Linked DNA regions of Homo sapiens: regions 1, 2 and 4 are each linked to region 3. The links are contacts of gene promoters, found by promoter capture Hi-C in blood cells and fetal thymus (Javierre and others, 2016). All regions are on one chromosome and are shown on one strand. The core of a region is centred on a gene start or on the middle of the fragment in contact, and the rest is flanking DNA. Distances in the headings are between cores, read along the strand shown.

Region 1 (3,472 bases), core at 916-3,415, 160 kb before region 3:
CTGGTCAAGATGGTGAAACCCCGTCTCCACTAAAAATACAAAAATGAGCCAGGCATGGTGGCGGGTGCCTGTAATCCCAGCTATTCAGGAGGCTGAGGCAGGAGAATCGCTTGAGCCCAGGAGGCAGAGGTTGCAATGAGCCAAGATCGCGCCACTGCACTCCAGCCTGGGCAACAGAGCAAGACTCCATCTCAAAAAAAAAAAAAAAAAAAAAAGAGCTATGTGTTCTTATAAGGGTTTCTGTTGTTGTTTCAGCAAGCTGGGATTACAGGTGTGAGCCACTGTGCCTGGCCCCAGATTTTGTTTTTATTGAGTGAATAACATGTAAAACATCACACAATGAAATAATTTTTATAAGTGGAGAATCCAGATCAGTTTCTAGTGCCCTGTGTGCATATCAGTCTCGTCAACACGTCAGGGGCTTTTCGAACTGAAAGTAGGAATAGAACATGGTCTGTTTCACGTTGATTATTTGAATGCTGCACTATTAGTCATGCAATGTTGTCTTTCATGTGAAAATGGGCTACGTGCGAGCTCTCAAGCGGGCTACTGGTATTCTTCCCACGACAGTCTCCCTTGCTGGCCCCTGCTCTTCCCCTGCCTCTTCACATTGCTGTGCCCAGCATCTGCTTCTCAGTCCTTCTCCCTTCCCAGTCTGTACTCTCCTGGTGACCTCAACTGTCTCATGGCTTTAGGTATAATCCATATGGCAATGACTCACAGATATGGATCTCTAAGCCAGACCTCTCTCCTGAATTCCAGAAACAGCTTGCTCAAAGTCTCCACTTAGAAATGTCTAAAAACTTGGCTGGGCGCGGTGGCTTATGCCTGTAATCCCAGCACTTTGGGAGGCTGAGGCGGGCGGATCACGAAGTCAGGAGATCGAGACCATCCTGGCTAACACGGTGAAACCCCATCTGTACTAAAAATACAAAAAATTAGCTGGAAATGGTGGCGGGCGCCTGTAGTCCCAGCTACTTGGGAGGCTGAGGCAGGAGAATGGCATGAACCCAGAAGGCAGAGCTTGCCGTGAGCCAAGATCACACCACTGCACTCCAGCCTGGGCGACAGAGTGAGACGCCATCTCAAAGAAAAAAAAAAAAAAGGAAATGTCTAAAAACCATCTGAAATGATCTGAAATGTAACATGTCTGAAACTGAACTCCGGATCTCCCCAACTTAAAAATCCACATGTCTAGGCCAAGTGAAGTGGCTCACACCTAAAATCTTAGCACTTCAGGAGGCCGAGGTGGGTACTTGAGCCCAGGAGTTGGAGGCCAGCCTGAGCAACATAGCGAGACCCTGCCTCTAAAAAGAATTTTAAAAAATTAGCCAGGCATGGTGGCGCACACCTGTAGTCCCAGCTACTTGAGAGGCTGAGGAGGGCGGATGCTTGAGCCCAAGACGCTGGGGCTGCAGTGAGCCATGATTGCACTACTGCACTCCAGCCTGGGCAACAGAGCAAGACCCTATCTCAAAAAAAAAAAAAATCTGCATTTCCACGACCTAGATTTTCCTCCACTCACCTGAGGGTAGCTGCATCCTTCCTGGTTTAGGTCAAAAACCCTAGCATCACCCAGGTGCAGGGGGATCACTGGAGGTCAAGAGTTCAAGACCAGCTGACTAACATGGTGAAACCCTGTCTCTACTAAAAATACAAAAACATTAGCCAGGCGTGGTGGTGGGCGCCTGTAATCCTACCTACTCAGGAGGCTAAGGCAGGAGAATCCCTTGAACCCAGGAGGCAGAAGTTGCAGTAAGCTGAGATTGTGCCACTGCACTCCAGCCTGGGTGACAGAGCAAGACTCCATCTCAAAAAAAAAAAAAAAAAAACCCTGGTGTCATCATCATCTCTGTCTGCCTTCTTTTCTCACACACTCACACTCCCCAGCTCAAGCCATCAGGAAATCTTGACTTCTCTACAGATTTATCCAGGATCTGACACTTGTTATCACCTCCACTGCTGCCACTGTGGTCCATGTCACATGGCCTACGTGGTCCATGATCTTTTGCCTGGTTATGATGAGTCTACTAACTAGTTTCCCTTATTCTACCTCTATCCCCTATTCCCTGATTTCTACAGAGCAGCCAGATTACAGTATTCCTCTGTTCAAAATTCCAGTGCGTCCCCATTTCATTCAGAGTAAATCCAAAAACCTTACGGTGAAAGTCCTCCAAAACCTTGTATAATCTGGTTCCCACACCTTTCTGACATCATCTGTTTTAACTCTCTTCCTCCTCCTCTCTGCTGTAACCATACAGAGGCCTCCTTCCTGTTTTTTGTACATGCCAGGCATCCCCTCACCCGAGAGCTATTGCGCTAGCCCTTCCATGTAGATATCACCTATGTGTTCTTCCCCAGGCTCCAAGTGGCTGACTCCCTCTCCTGCTTCCAGTTTCTGCTCAGTGAGGCCCACCTCGTCCCTTAGCCCACTTAGCCTGCTTTGCTTTTTCAGTTTTCCTATATTACTGGTAACTTTCTACCATTTTATATAGTTTTCTTGTTTAGTTTTGAAAATTGACAAAATATGTATTTCTATATTATTTGTATATAAAATTGTATATATTTATGGTATACATGATGTCTTGAAATATGTATACGCTGCAGAATGCCCAAATCAGGCTAATTAACATATGCATTACTACTCAAACTTAATATTTTTTTTGTGGGAAGAACATTAAAATCTACTCTTCTAGCAATTTAGCAACCCCTCCCCTCCCCTCCCCTTCCCTCTTTCTTGAGACAGGGTCTCACTCTGTCACCCTGGGTGGAGTGCAGTGGCACGATCTTGGCTCACCTCCCGGGCTCAAGTGAACCTCCCACCACAGCCTCCCAAGTAGCTGGGACCACAGGAATGCGCTGCCACACCCGGCTAATTTTTGTATCTTTTGCAGAGACAGAATTTCACCATGTTGCCCATGCTGGTCTTGAACTTCTAGGTTCAAGCGATCCTCTGACCGAGGCCTCCCAAAGTGCTGGGATTACAGGTGTGAGCACCCGGCCTGGCAATTTTCAAGTATACAATACATTGTTATTAACTGGAGACACAATGTTGTACAATAGATCTCTTGAACTTATTTCTCCTACAATTTTGCCTCATTTGAATAACATCTCCCCAAACCTTCCCAGAGAAATCTGGGTATTATATTTACTGCGCATTGTCTCCTGCAGCCTCTCAGCTAGAATGCAAGCCCCTTAAGGGTGGAGATCTTTGGGTTGTGCTCACTAATGTGTCATAGTGCAGAACAGTGCCTGGCACATAGTAGGTGCCCAGTAAATATTTGTAGATTGTGAGTGAATCGGTAGGGTACAGGCCTAAGATATTTAGCCAGCTTTGCTTTATGGGGAATTATGTGTTTGCACCGGCCTGTGAGAGCTGATGAGATTTTAACAACAAAAAGTAGAACAACAAGGTGCCAGCCGAGTTTCAATCACTAGGGATGCTTGAATGAACGAGACACAGGAAGTGCCT
Region 2 (3,332 bases), core at 237-2,736, 190 kb before region 3:
AACAATGTCATTGCAGAAAAATTTTAGGCAGTCAAGTGCTTTATTTGCCAAAAAGATTCAACCACCTGATGGAAATGAAAAACAGGATGATACGATGGCTTCTTCCTTCACTTTCTCACTTTCCTTGGATTATGAAATGCCAGTAATTGAGAAAGCGGAATGAACAGTCATTAGAGATGGAAGAAAACCCTAGAGAGAAGTTGGAAGTAGTTGGGTGGGATAAAGACTTTCTGATAACTTCAAGCAGATCTAGAAATTGGCATTGGATTGTTAGAGAAAAATTGAAAATGTAAAATGTTAGTTGCATGAGTGGGCAACAGATACTCTCCATTAGCAGTGTTCAATTACGTGTCACCAATGTGCAATAGTCTGAGACAGGCAGGGTCTTGCTCTGTCACCCAGGCACTGTCAGAGCTCACTGCAGCCTCAACCTCCTGGCCTCAAGCCATCCTCCCACTTCAGCCTCCCCAGTAGCTAAGACTCAGGTGCACACTACCACGCCCAGCTAATTTTTTAATTTTGTAAATTTCTTATTTATTATTATTTCCTGTTTTTTTGGGGGGGGTAGAGATAGGATCTCACTATGTTGCCCAGGCTAGCCTTGAACTCCTGGCCTCAAGTGATCCTCCTGCCTCAGCCTCCCAAAGTGTTGGGATTACTTACAGGCATGAGCCACTGAGCCTGGCCAAGTTCTGTTTATTTAGATAATATTTGCTTGTAGTATGGACCCCACCCAGCTCACAAGCTTGGGGTGAGGGACCTGGGGGTTAAATGACGGCAAATGTAAGCCAACCTAAAGGTTATATGTATGTTGATTCTTCAGATGTGGCCGAGATCAGGCAAGGCAGCTCACAGGGAGAGTAAAGGGTACTATTTTATACACTAGGTACTTGGTAACCAGTCTGAATTGTGGGCCAGTCCTAGGGACATGGGGCAAAAGTAAAGAAAGGAAAGGAAAAAAGACTAGAGGGAAATGTAGGATACACTCACGTGGATGGAAGATTGAGTCCAGGGAAACTGAGTAAGATGCCAAATGCTCACGATAAAAGGATGACGTTTCCATGGGATCCTGTAGGCATCACCGAGAGGGTACTGTTGGGAGAACACTTAGGAACCCAGATCACCTAACATGGAGTGAGTGGGGCTCAGATCTGAGCAGAAACCCAACAAGGACTTCCCAACTCCAAGTAAAGCTAAATTTAGACAATCCTTTTATGTTGCTGGTCCCTCTTGCAACACAGTCTCCTCCGGCCAGGCTGCCTTCTCCTTCTTTATATGCACCAGCCTTCTTCCACCTCAGGGCTTTGAACTCCTTTATCCCAGCTCTGCCTTGCCCTTGGCCGGGGAAGTCTCTAGCCCTAGGTGCTTCACCTTCAGCTAACCCTATTGTGTGCAATCCCGACCTCCTGGCTCTCTCTAAAGTCAGTTACACACGCCAGTGAGCTCTGAGGGTTCAGCCAAGATTGAATACACTCTGTTAAAGAAGGGGAATTGGGGGAAAAGCCAGATTTTAAAAGCATGATTTATTTCTTACTTGTTTATGTATTTTTGAATAGGCCACACCTGGTGTGTGACTGCCCCAGTCATTAGGGGATTTTTTTTTTTCTTCCCTGGAGGCAACCACCATAACTGGTTTCTTGTGAATTCTTCCAGAGAGCTATCAAGCATTTATGAGTAAATTCCCCCCTCCCTTACAAATGTTAGCATACTAGTCACACTTTTTGGTACCTTTTACCACTTATAATATCTTGGTGGGGGTTTCTTTTCCTTAGCCGCCTCATTCTTCTTAATGTAACTATTAATCCTTCTTCTGTTTTTTGTTTTTGTTTTTTGACAGGGTCTTGCTTTGTTGCCCAGGCTAGTCTCAAACTCCTGGCCTCAAGCAGTCCTCCTGCCTCAGCCTCCTGAAGTGCTGGGATTACACTGGGCAACACGGCCAACCCCTGTCTCTATCAAAACAAAAACAAAAATTAGTTGGGCGTGCTAACGCACACCTGTAGTCCTAGGTACTTGGGAGGGTGAGGTGGGATGATCACCCGAGCCTGAGGAGATCAAGGCGGCAGTGAGCGGTGATTGAGCCACTGCACACCAGCATACTGCACACCAGGCCACAGAGTGAAACCCTGTCTCAAAAAAAAAAAGAGCGAGTGTTGGTATTTGTGTGAAATTTTTATTGAGGATATTAAGACAAAGTGTTGATGTTCTATACTTTGAACCCAAAGCTTTGTAACTCATTTTCTACTTGTAACTATGTAAAATATGCCTGCTTAGTATACCAAACAGTATTCTTAACTGTATTCTTAAGGTCGGGCACGGTGGCTTACCCCTGTAATCCCAGCACTTCGGAAGGCCGAGGTGGGTGGATCACCTGAGGTCAGGAGTTCAAGACCAGCCTGGCCAACATGGTGAAACCCTATCTCTACTAAAAATACAAAAAAATTAACCGGGCATCTTGGCGCGTGCCTGTAATCCCAGCTACTCAGGAGGCTGAGGCAGGAGAATTGCTTGAACCCAGGAGGCAGACATTGCAGTGAGCTGAGATCGCGCCACTACACTCCAGCCTGGTGATAGAGTGAGACTCCGTCTCAAAAAAAAAAAAAAGTTAATTTTATGTTAGATGAATTTCACCTCAAATTAAAAAGAAGAGAAAGAGGCTGGGTGCAATGGCTCACGCCTGTAATCCTAGCACTTTGGGAGGCTGAGGCGGGTGGATCACTTGAGCCCAGGAGTTTGAGACCAGCCTGGCCAACATGGTGAGACCTTGTCTCTACAAAAATACAAGTTAGCCAGGCATGGTAGCCTGCACCTGTGGTCCCAGCTACTTGGGAGGCTTAGGTGGGAGGATCACCTGAGCCCAGGAGGTCAAGGCTGTAGTGAGCCAAGATAGCACCACTACACTCCAGCCTGGGCAACAGAGCAAGACCTTGTTTCAGGAAAAAACAACAGGTTAGTACTGGGCATCTTAGCTATCTCTTAGACGACAAAGGGCTAATTTGGGATGGACACTCCTTGGTGTTTGGAAATTTAAAAGCCAATGCAAATGCTGTATAAAACAATTGATCTTTAACGGTTCAGCGGGATCTATAAATTTTCTCCTGAGTAATGAAAGATTGCTGTGTTTTTTTTTGAAGTCTCCTTAATGATTGTCTGTGTACTTACTCCCTGTTGCAAAACAGGTAATGAGAGTATATTAGGTGCTATTTTAAAATACACCCACAACATTAAACTAAATTCAAATAATTAATTGGAAATTGTTATTTCTGCAAAGTAATTTCCACCAAATCAGTCATTAAGCTATCTACTAAAACCAGTATTTAGTGGCTTTTAGTCAA
Region 3 (3,353 bases), core at 687-3,186:
GCCCAGTGAGACTTGGGCTGCAGTCTCTTGGCAAAGCCACTTACTGCCAGATTCATAGCTGCCACTTTTTCAGCATTCCTTTTGCTAAAGAGCACTCAATTAGATCTGCCACAGCACAGGTGGTGGTTATCACTGGGTCCTCTGGCCTCATGGAGCAAGGGTGGGAGCAGCTCATCTGTACCCTGGGACTTCAGCTGAGGAGGAGGGTCCAGAAATGCCCCTGGCCTTCTTGCCCTTTCCTTAGTAGTGTCCAGTACCCCCTGGTGGATGGGCTGCTTGATGGGCAGATTCAGAGCCACCTCTGAGAGCGTGAGAGCTGCAGACGTTGACCCCCTGGACTCCTGCAGCAATTCCCAAGGAGCCTCTCCATCATCTGACAGGGACTCCGTATCCAGTGAGTGCACGTGCATCTGGGTTTGGCTGAACCAGTCTGCAGAGGGCAAGACTTTGAGACTTTAATATATGGCTTTTGACCAAAGATAAAACGCTGGTGCAAGAAGTCCCGAGTCTACTATTTTTTCCAGCCCAAGGAAGAGAAGAACAATCTCAGTGGAGACTGTTCCAGAGAAAACGTAAGGCATTCTAGAAATGCTGCCCTGCTTCGGAATGGTCTTCCAGAAAGGGGAACCCCAGACAGCCCCCATCGGCCCCTCCCCCTAGCCAATGAGATGTAACAGCAGCTGCAGCAGCAGCAAACATCTACTGCACTCCTACCGTGCCAGGCCCTGTGCAAACCGTGCGGCAGAGACTGACCTGCAACCAATTCCTGTTCCACCTCCTAGCTGGGTAACTTGAGGCGTGCACTGCCCCTCGGAGACTCCGCATTCTCATTTGTAAAACGAAAAACAATCTACCTCAAAGGATTGCTGGGAGAATTCAATGAGATGATGCTTTGCCCAGGGCCTGCCACATAGTAACTGCTTAATAAGAGGTAGTTCTCAAAGTAAGGGATGACACTGAGAAAAGGAAAACTACTGTTACTTAAGGGGTTCTTAAAAGTCCTAGAAGCCATTATTTATGCATTTAGGTATTTCCTAAGCGTTTGCTGATACCAGTTTTTCAAATAAACTTTATCCTCACAGCATCTTCGGGGTGGAAGGGGCAGAGGGTAGAGCGACAGACCTGCCGAAGGAGGAAAACCAGACCCGTGAAGGTCCAGGGGGGTGGCCGGCAAGCACCGAGGAGGAGTCCCCCGGCTCAAACCCTCTTGCGTGGCTTCAAAACATCAGACGCGCCTCTCCTCGCGGAGAAGCTGGGGGCCATTATTTGTGAGGCAGTCGGCGCTGGGACTCTAAGTCAGCACCGCAGAGAAGTGGTCATCTTTTGTTCCGAAAGAAAAAAACGCACGTCAGGGCTCAGAGCCCGAGGAAAGAAAAGTCAGCGCCCGAGACGCGAGACGCCACGCGGATGCTTTCAACGCTAGGTCAGGCCCCGGCAGAAATGAGAGGGGGGCGGCCCCGGTTCTGGAGAAGCCACGAGCCCCCAGGGAGCTCAGAGTGGGGTGGTGCTGGGGCCCAGAGGCCCCCCTGGGCGCCGACCGGAGGAGGGGAGAGGGGCGGCGGCGGCCGGGGGGGTCCCGGGCTCCGCTCACCGGGCCGCTGCGTCTGGCGTACCTGGCGAAGCCAGGCCCTGTCAGCCCGGAGCCGGGCTGGGGTCGCCAATGCTCAGAGGCCCGGCCCACAGAAGCAGCCGGTGGCGGCCCGGAACTCACCTGCACTCGCAACTGCGCCGCCGCCGCCTGTCAGTCAAGCGCGCCCCCTCTGAGGCGACGCGCAGGGTTGTGGGGCCGTCTGGCGACGCCCCACCTCCTTCCCTCTGCCGTCCAATCGGAAGAGGCTGACGCCAGGAGAGGGGGCGTGGCCACGCGGACTGTGCGTGCCGGGGGCGGGGCCAGACGGGGCAGGCGCTCTGACCGCTCTGCCGCGCGCCGGAAGCAGCCTGGGCCGCTGCGCAGAGGCGCGGCGGCTGTACAACTCGGCCGTTGTCACCATGCCGGTCGTCCGGAAGATTTTCCGTCGCCGCCGGGGCGACTCGGAGTCAGAGGAAGATGAGCAGGACTCAGAGGAGGTTCGGTGCGTTTGGGGCGGGGCTCCCATAGGCTTGGTAAAGATAGACTTGTTTGGGGGACTCACCACCGGCTCGGCGCTTCGCTGACATTGTTAACTGTGAGCTCGGGTGGTGGTTCCTTCTGCGGACGCAGAAATTGAGGCTCAAGGGGTGAGGCCACCGCCCCAAGCTCGAACGGTTGAGAGAGATGCCTCCGGGATGCGCAGTGGCTCTGACTCCCGGTGGGTCTAGGCACAAGGTCGTCCTCTGGACCACTGTGCTGGTGGCTCAGTAGCTGGGCTGGGATGCCCTCGAAGGTGCCTTATTGGCTCTGTTAGCTTTGGATTCCGCGGGGAATCACTCAGCTTATGCATTGCTGCTTCTTCTTCTTTTTAAAGATTAAAACTGGAAGAGACCAGAGAGGTACAGAACTTGAGGAAGAGGCCCAACGGGGTGAGGTGGGTACCACGCGGGGAGGAGGAGGAGGCGGCGGGGACGACAGACACATCCGCGTCCGGGTCGCTGTCACAAATATCTCCTCAGACGTAGATTTTTCTCTTGACACACTGTACACCTTCCACTGCCCAACTTGGAGAACAGCGTTCTTTGCAAATGTTTAACCAGGACATGCCCTGAGCTGTGTCGTCTCGGGGTGTGCTCCAGAGATACAGAAACAGATCACTAACTCGCGTTTTTTATTAAAACCAATTAATTGTGAAATGCATATCGATCGTTAAGAGTTTGTATAATTTAGAAAAGTATAGTCAAGACGATAAAAAGCACCCATAATTCTCCCATCCGGAAATGATCAGTGTTAACATTTTTTTTCCTTGCAGAGCCACCCAAGAATGCACTGGTATTAATATTGAATACTCTTTCCAATCTGTTTTTTTTCGTCTCTCTCTCTCAGATTGTGAACAACTTTCTATGTACTTTTATTCCCTGTTCTTTTCAACTCATTATGACATTGTGGGCATTCACCCATATTGTGGAATATTTTTCAGAAAGCCTTAATGGCTGCATAATATTCCACCAGATGTGTGTATTGTAATTTGTTAACAAATCCCCTATTTTGGGACATGTAGGTGATTTTGTAAATTTTTACTATCAAATAAGGCTGCAGTGGATATTCTCTTAAATTTATCTTTAGCTGCACTTTCCATGATGAGAATATCTTAGAAATGAGATTTCCAGGCCAAGATAATGCCAAATGGCTTTACAGGAAAGTGGCAAAGTGTACCACTTCACCACCAGCGCACCCTTCTTCCAGCATCTGCGGTGCTCGTTGAGCCCTGTCTTATGCTTAT
Region 4 (3,335 bases), core at 547-3,046, 240 kb before region 3:
ATCCTCCCACTTTGGCCTCCCAAAGTGCTGGGATTATAGGCGTGAGCCACTGCACCTGGCCATAAATTATCTTTAAAGAACTCACATGAATCATCAGATGAACCTGACAGTTAATAAAAAATGGTGAATATAAATTGGTTAATCAACACATGGAGAAAAAGTACAGTCTCAGTAATAAGAGTAAATATAAATAAACAGGGCCGGGCGCAGTGGCTCACGCCTGTAATCCCAGCACTTTGGGAGGCCGAGGCGGGCGGATCACGAGGTCGGGAGATCGAGACCATCCTAGCTAACACCGTGAAACCCTGTCTCTACTAAAAATACAAAAAATTAGCCGGGCATGGTGGCGGGCGCCTGTAGTCCCAGCTACTTGGGAGGCTGAGGCAGGAGAATGGCGTGAACCCGGGAGGCGGAGCTTGCAGTGAGCCGAGATTGCGCCACTGTACTCCAGCCTGGGCGACAGAGCGAGACTCCGTCTCAAAAAATAAATAAATAAATAAATAAATAAATAAATAAACAGGAATACCTTTTTTGCCTTTCATTTTAGGATTTTGTTTTTTGAAAAGAAAATACCCCATATTGGCTAGGACATGATAATGTGCCCACTATTCCTACATATTTCTGATAAGAATATAAATCCACACAACTCATTTGGAAAGGAATTTAAAAATATACATCAATATTCTCAAATGCATTCATATCCTTTGAACCAGAAATTGCAATTCTGAAAACCATCTTAAAGAACGTTCGCTATACGAAGACAGTTCTATGCATAAAGAAGTCCACTGCAGCAATATTCATAATCACACAAAAATGGAAATGTGTCTCCTTAAGGGGAAAGGTTGAGCAAATTACAGTATCTGCTTAACAGGATATATGATAGGTATGAAATGGGCTAAAAAGTAATCAGGCATGTATATAAAATTATAAGCATGACTGAATTTTAAAAATCAAATGTTCTAGACTTATGAAACAAGCTTATAAGAAAACATAAATTACTAAAATTCTAACACTGGGAATAAGGAGAAATGACTGTTGTTTTTCCATCTGCTTCAGATTTTCCACATTTTTCTTTAACATTTACGTATTTTTGTGTAACTTCCAAAATATAATGCTAAGACGACAACAGATCATGTTTTACTTTTACTTTTAATTAGGAACAAAAAAGCTACAAAGCAGGTAGTGAAAACTGAAAGCCAGTTTCCACCTTACGGTTTACCTTGTGTCTTCTGGGTCTGGTTGCCTGCTGAAGCAGGGTTAACATTAGGCTCCTGGCTCTGACCAAGGACTTTCTCATCCCTGCTGAAGATGATCTTTGGTAACTGGGTACCAGCTTCTGGTGGAGACTTTACTCTTACCCTACATTCAAATAAGACAGAAGGAAAAAAGGTCAAAGCAGTGCTCCTGGCCACTGAGCACGCTGCGTGTAGGCCCTGTGCCAAGCTCATGCAGTCCTTATCATGTTCTACAATGTAGATTCTATTATCCACATTCTACAGATACCAAAACTGAGGCTCAGAAACGTTAAATAACTTGCCCAAGGGCACCAAGCTAGGAAGTAGTTGGACGAGGATCCAGGTAGTCTCTCTTAAGCCTAAGATCTTAGTAACCACACAATTCTGAGGTACATCTTTCTCCTTAAGTATCGTTAAAATGCTCAGCAAATTGGTGCACAAGAGAAACGGACAAAATGTAAAACATCAGTAAGACTTTAAAGTGAAATCCAGGCCAGGCATGGTGGCTCACGCCTGTAATCTCAGCACTTTGGGAGGCTGAGGCGGGTGGATCACTTGAGGTCAGGAATTCAGGAACAGCCTGGCCAACATGGCAAAACCCTGTCTCTACTAAAATTACAAAAAAAAACTGGCCGGGTGTGTTGGCATGCACCTGTAATCCCAGCTACTTGGGAGGCTAAGGCAGGAGAATCGCTTGAACCTGGGAGGTGGAGGATGCAATGAGCCAAGATCGTGCCACTGCACTCCAGCCTGGGCCACAGAGCGAGACCCCGTCTCAAAAAATAAAGAAAGCAAGTGAAATCCAGGGAAGCACGAGAGGGCAGTGGCACTGTTAGTTGCCTCCTAATATCCATTTCCACCCTTCCCCCTTCTCATGAGACCCAATTTTGTTTACCCCATCCCACCCAGGAGGGGCCAGTGACAGTTCCCATGACTGAGTGGATGCCCAACCTAAGCTGGCACATTCAAGCACTTCTCATTCTACCTGGAGGAGGAGCCTGCTCTCTGTCCCTTGGCTGGATATGAATGATGGAGCAGAGCCACCTTGTGATGGCTGGGAAACCTGCCTGAGGAAGAAGCTAACACTCAGGATGGCAGAGCAGAAAGATGAAATGCACCAGAGTCCCTAACATCAGCAAGCCACCGCAGGCCTGTCTCTCGCCTGCCCCACTGCACATAGGTGAGGTAATCAATGTCTTCACTATTCACGCCAGAGTCTAAGTCAAGTCTTTTGTTGCTTGCTTCCAAAAGTAGACTGACCAATACAGGAGACTGTCAGATCAATCTTCTTAAATGAAAACAGAGGTTATCACGGAGAATATTTTAAAAGTTAGGGTCTACAATGGTTTTATGACAAAGCATTTTTTTTTTAGAAGCTTATTCATTAGTCTTCTTACCTCCAGTCTTGTTCATCTCAAATCCATCCTCTTCTGGGCTGCTAGGAGTCTACCTTACAGGCAAGTCTGAGCACATGATTCCTACCTTAAAGGCTCCCTCAGCAATTACAAAGTACGCAGTTGGAAGTATGCTGAACTTGAAAACACAAAGTCTGATAATTCATCAAAGTTCAACATTTTTTTTTTTTTTTTGAGACGGAGTCTCACTCTCTCACCCAGGCTGGAGTGCAGTGGCGCGATCTCGGCTCACCGCAAGCTCCGCCTCCTGGGTTCACACCATTCTCCTGTCTCAGCCTCCCGAATAGCTGGGACTACAGGCGCCCACCACCACGCCCGGCTAATTTTTTGTATTTTTAGTAGAGACGGGGTTTCACTGTTTTAGCCAGGATGGTCTCAATCTCCTGACCTCGTGATCCGTCCGCCTCGGCCTCCCAAAGGGCTGGGATTACAGGCATGAGCCACCATGCCCGGCCTCAACATTTTCAAAGAGGCTGAATTGTCAGAAATCCTCACCAACAATCTCATGAGGCAGATACCATCATCACGAAGTAGGTAAGGACACTGAGGCCCGGAGTCACAGGGCTGGTGAGTGGCAGAAGCCATTACGTGGACCCAGTCTTGTTTCCACTCTGCCTTTGCATAGACTATGCCCTCTGCCTGGAATGCTTTACTTATTCATCTGGTAAAAGGCTACTCACTAGAA

What was found. The method cuts DNA at HindIII sites, captures the fragments that hold promoters and counts their contacts. A CHiCAGO score of 5 or more calls a contact.
Region 1: a contact is called between a fragment that was not itself captured here and the fragment with the promoter of C9orf78 in region 3, in 2 of 17 cell types (total CD8 T cells and naive CD4 T cells). The highest score is 7.2, in total CD8 T cells.
Region 2: a contact is called between a fragment that was not itself captured here and the fragment with the promoter of C9orf78 in region 3, in 4 of 17 cell types (total CD8 T cells, naive CD8 T cells, naive CD4 T cells and 1 more). The highest score is 7.2, in total CD8 T cells.
Region 4: a fragment that was not itself captured here is called in contact with the fragment with the promoter of C9orf78 in region 3 in 12 of 17 cell types (total CD8 T cells, activated CD4 T cells, naive CD4 T cells and 9 more); the score reaches 10.4 in total CD8 T cells.

Annotation. Positions count from the first base shown.
Region 1 is chr9:129,989,293-129,992,764 of GRCh38, reverse strand. All of the region lies in intron 2 of FNBP1 (formin binding protein 1), which reads left to right. Among named protein-coding and RNA genes, the nearest start is that of FNBP1, 52 kb to the left of the region's middle. RefSeq lists enhancers at 518-567, 578-627 and a silencer at 2,701-2,995. The HindIII fragment of the contact is 5,563 bases long and covers 1-3,472 here.
Region 2 is chr9:130,021,479-130,024,810 of GRCh38, reverse strand. All of the region lies in intron 1 of FNBP1 (formin binding protein 1), which reads left to right. Among named protein-coding and RNA genes, the nearest start is that of FNBP1, 20 kb to the left of the region's middle. RefSeq lists a silencer at 640-790 and an enhancer at 2,126-2,245. The HindIII fragment of the contact is 1,477 bases long and covers 748-2,224 here.
Region 3 is chr9:129,833,858-129,837,210 of GRCh38, reverse strand. C9orf78 (chromosome 9 open reading frame 78) reads left to right here and starts at 1,936. Exons shown (of 9, transcript NM_016520.3): 1 at 1,936-2,072; 2 at 2,445-2,504. The coding sequence starts at 1,990. It overlaps USP20 (ubiquitin specific peptidase 20), which reads right to left and starts at 1,753. Exons shown (of 26, transcript NM_001110303.4): 1 at 1,712-1,753. RefSeq lists an enhancer at 1,003-1,503 and silencers at 1,475-1,624, 1,655-2,004. The HindIII fragment of the contact is 4,419 bases long and covers 1-3,353 here.
Region 4 is chr9:130,077,654-130,080,988 of GRCh38, reverse strand. It overlaps GPR107 (G protein-coupled receptor 107), which reads right to left. Exons shown (of 18, transcript NM_020960.5): 5 at 1,220-1,359. Among named protein-coding and RNA genes, the nearest start is that of GPR107, 25 kb to the right of the region's middle. The HindIII fragment of the contact is 1,634 bases long and covers 980-2,613 here.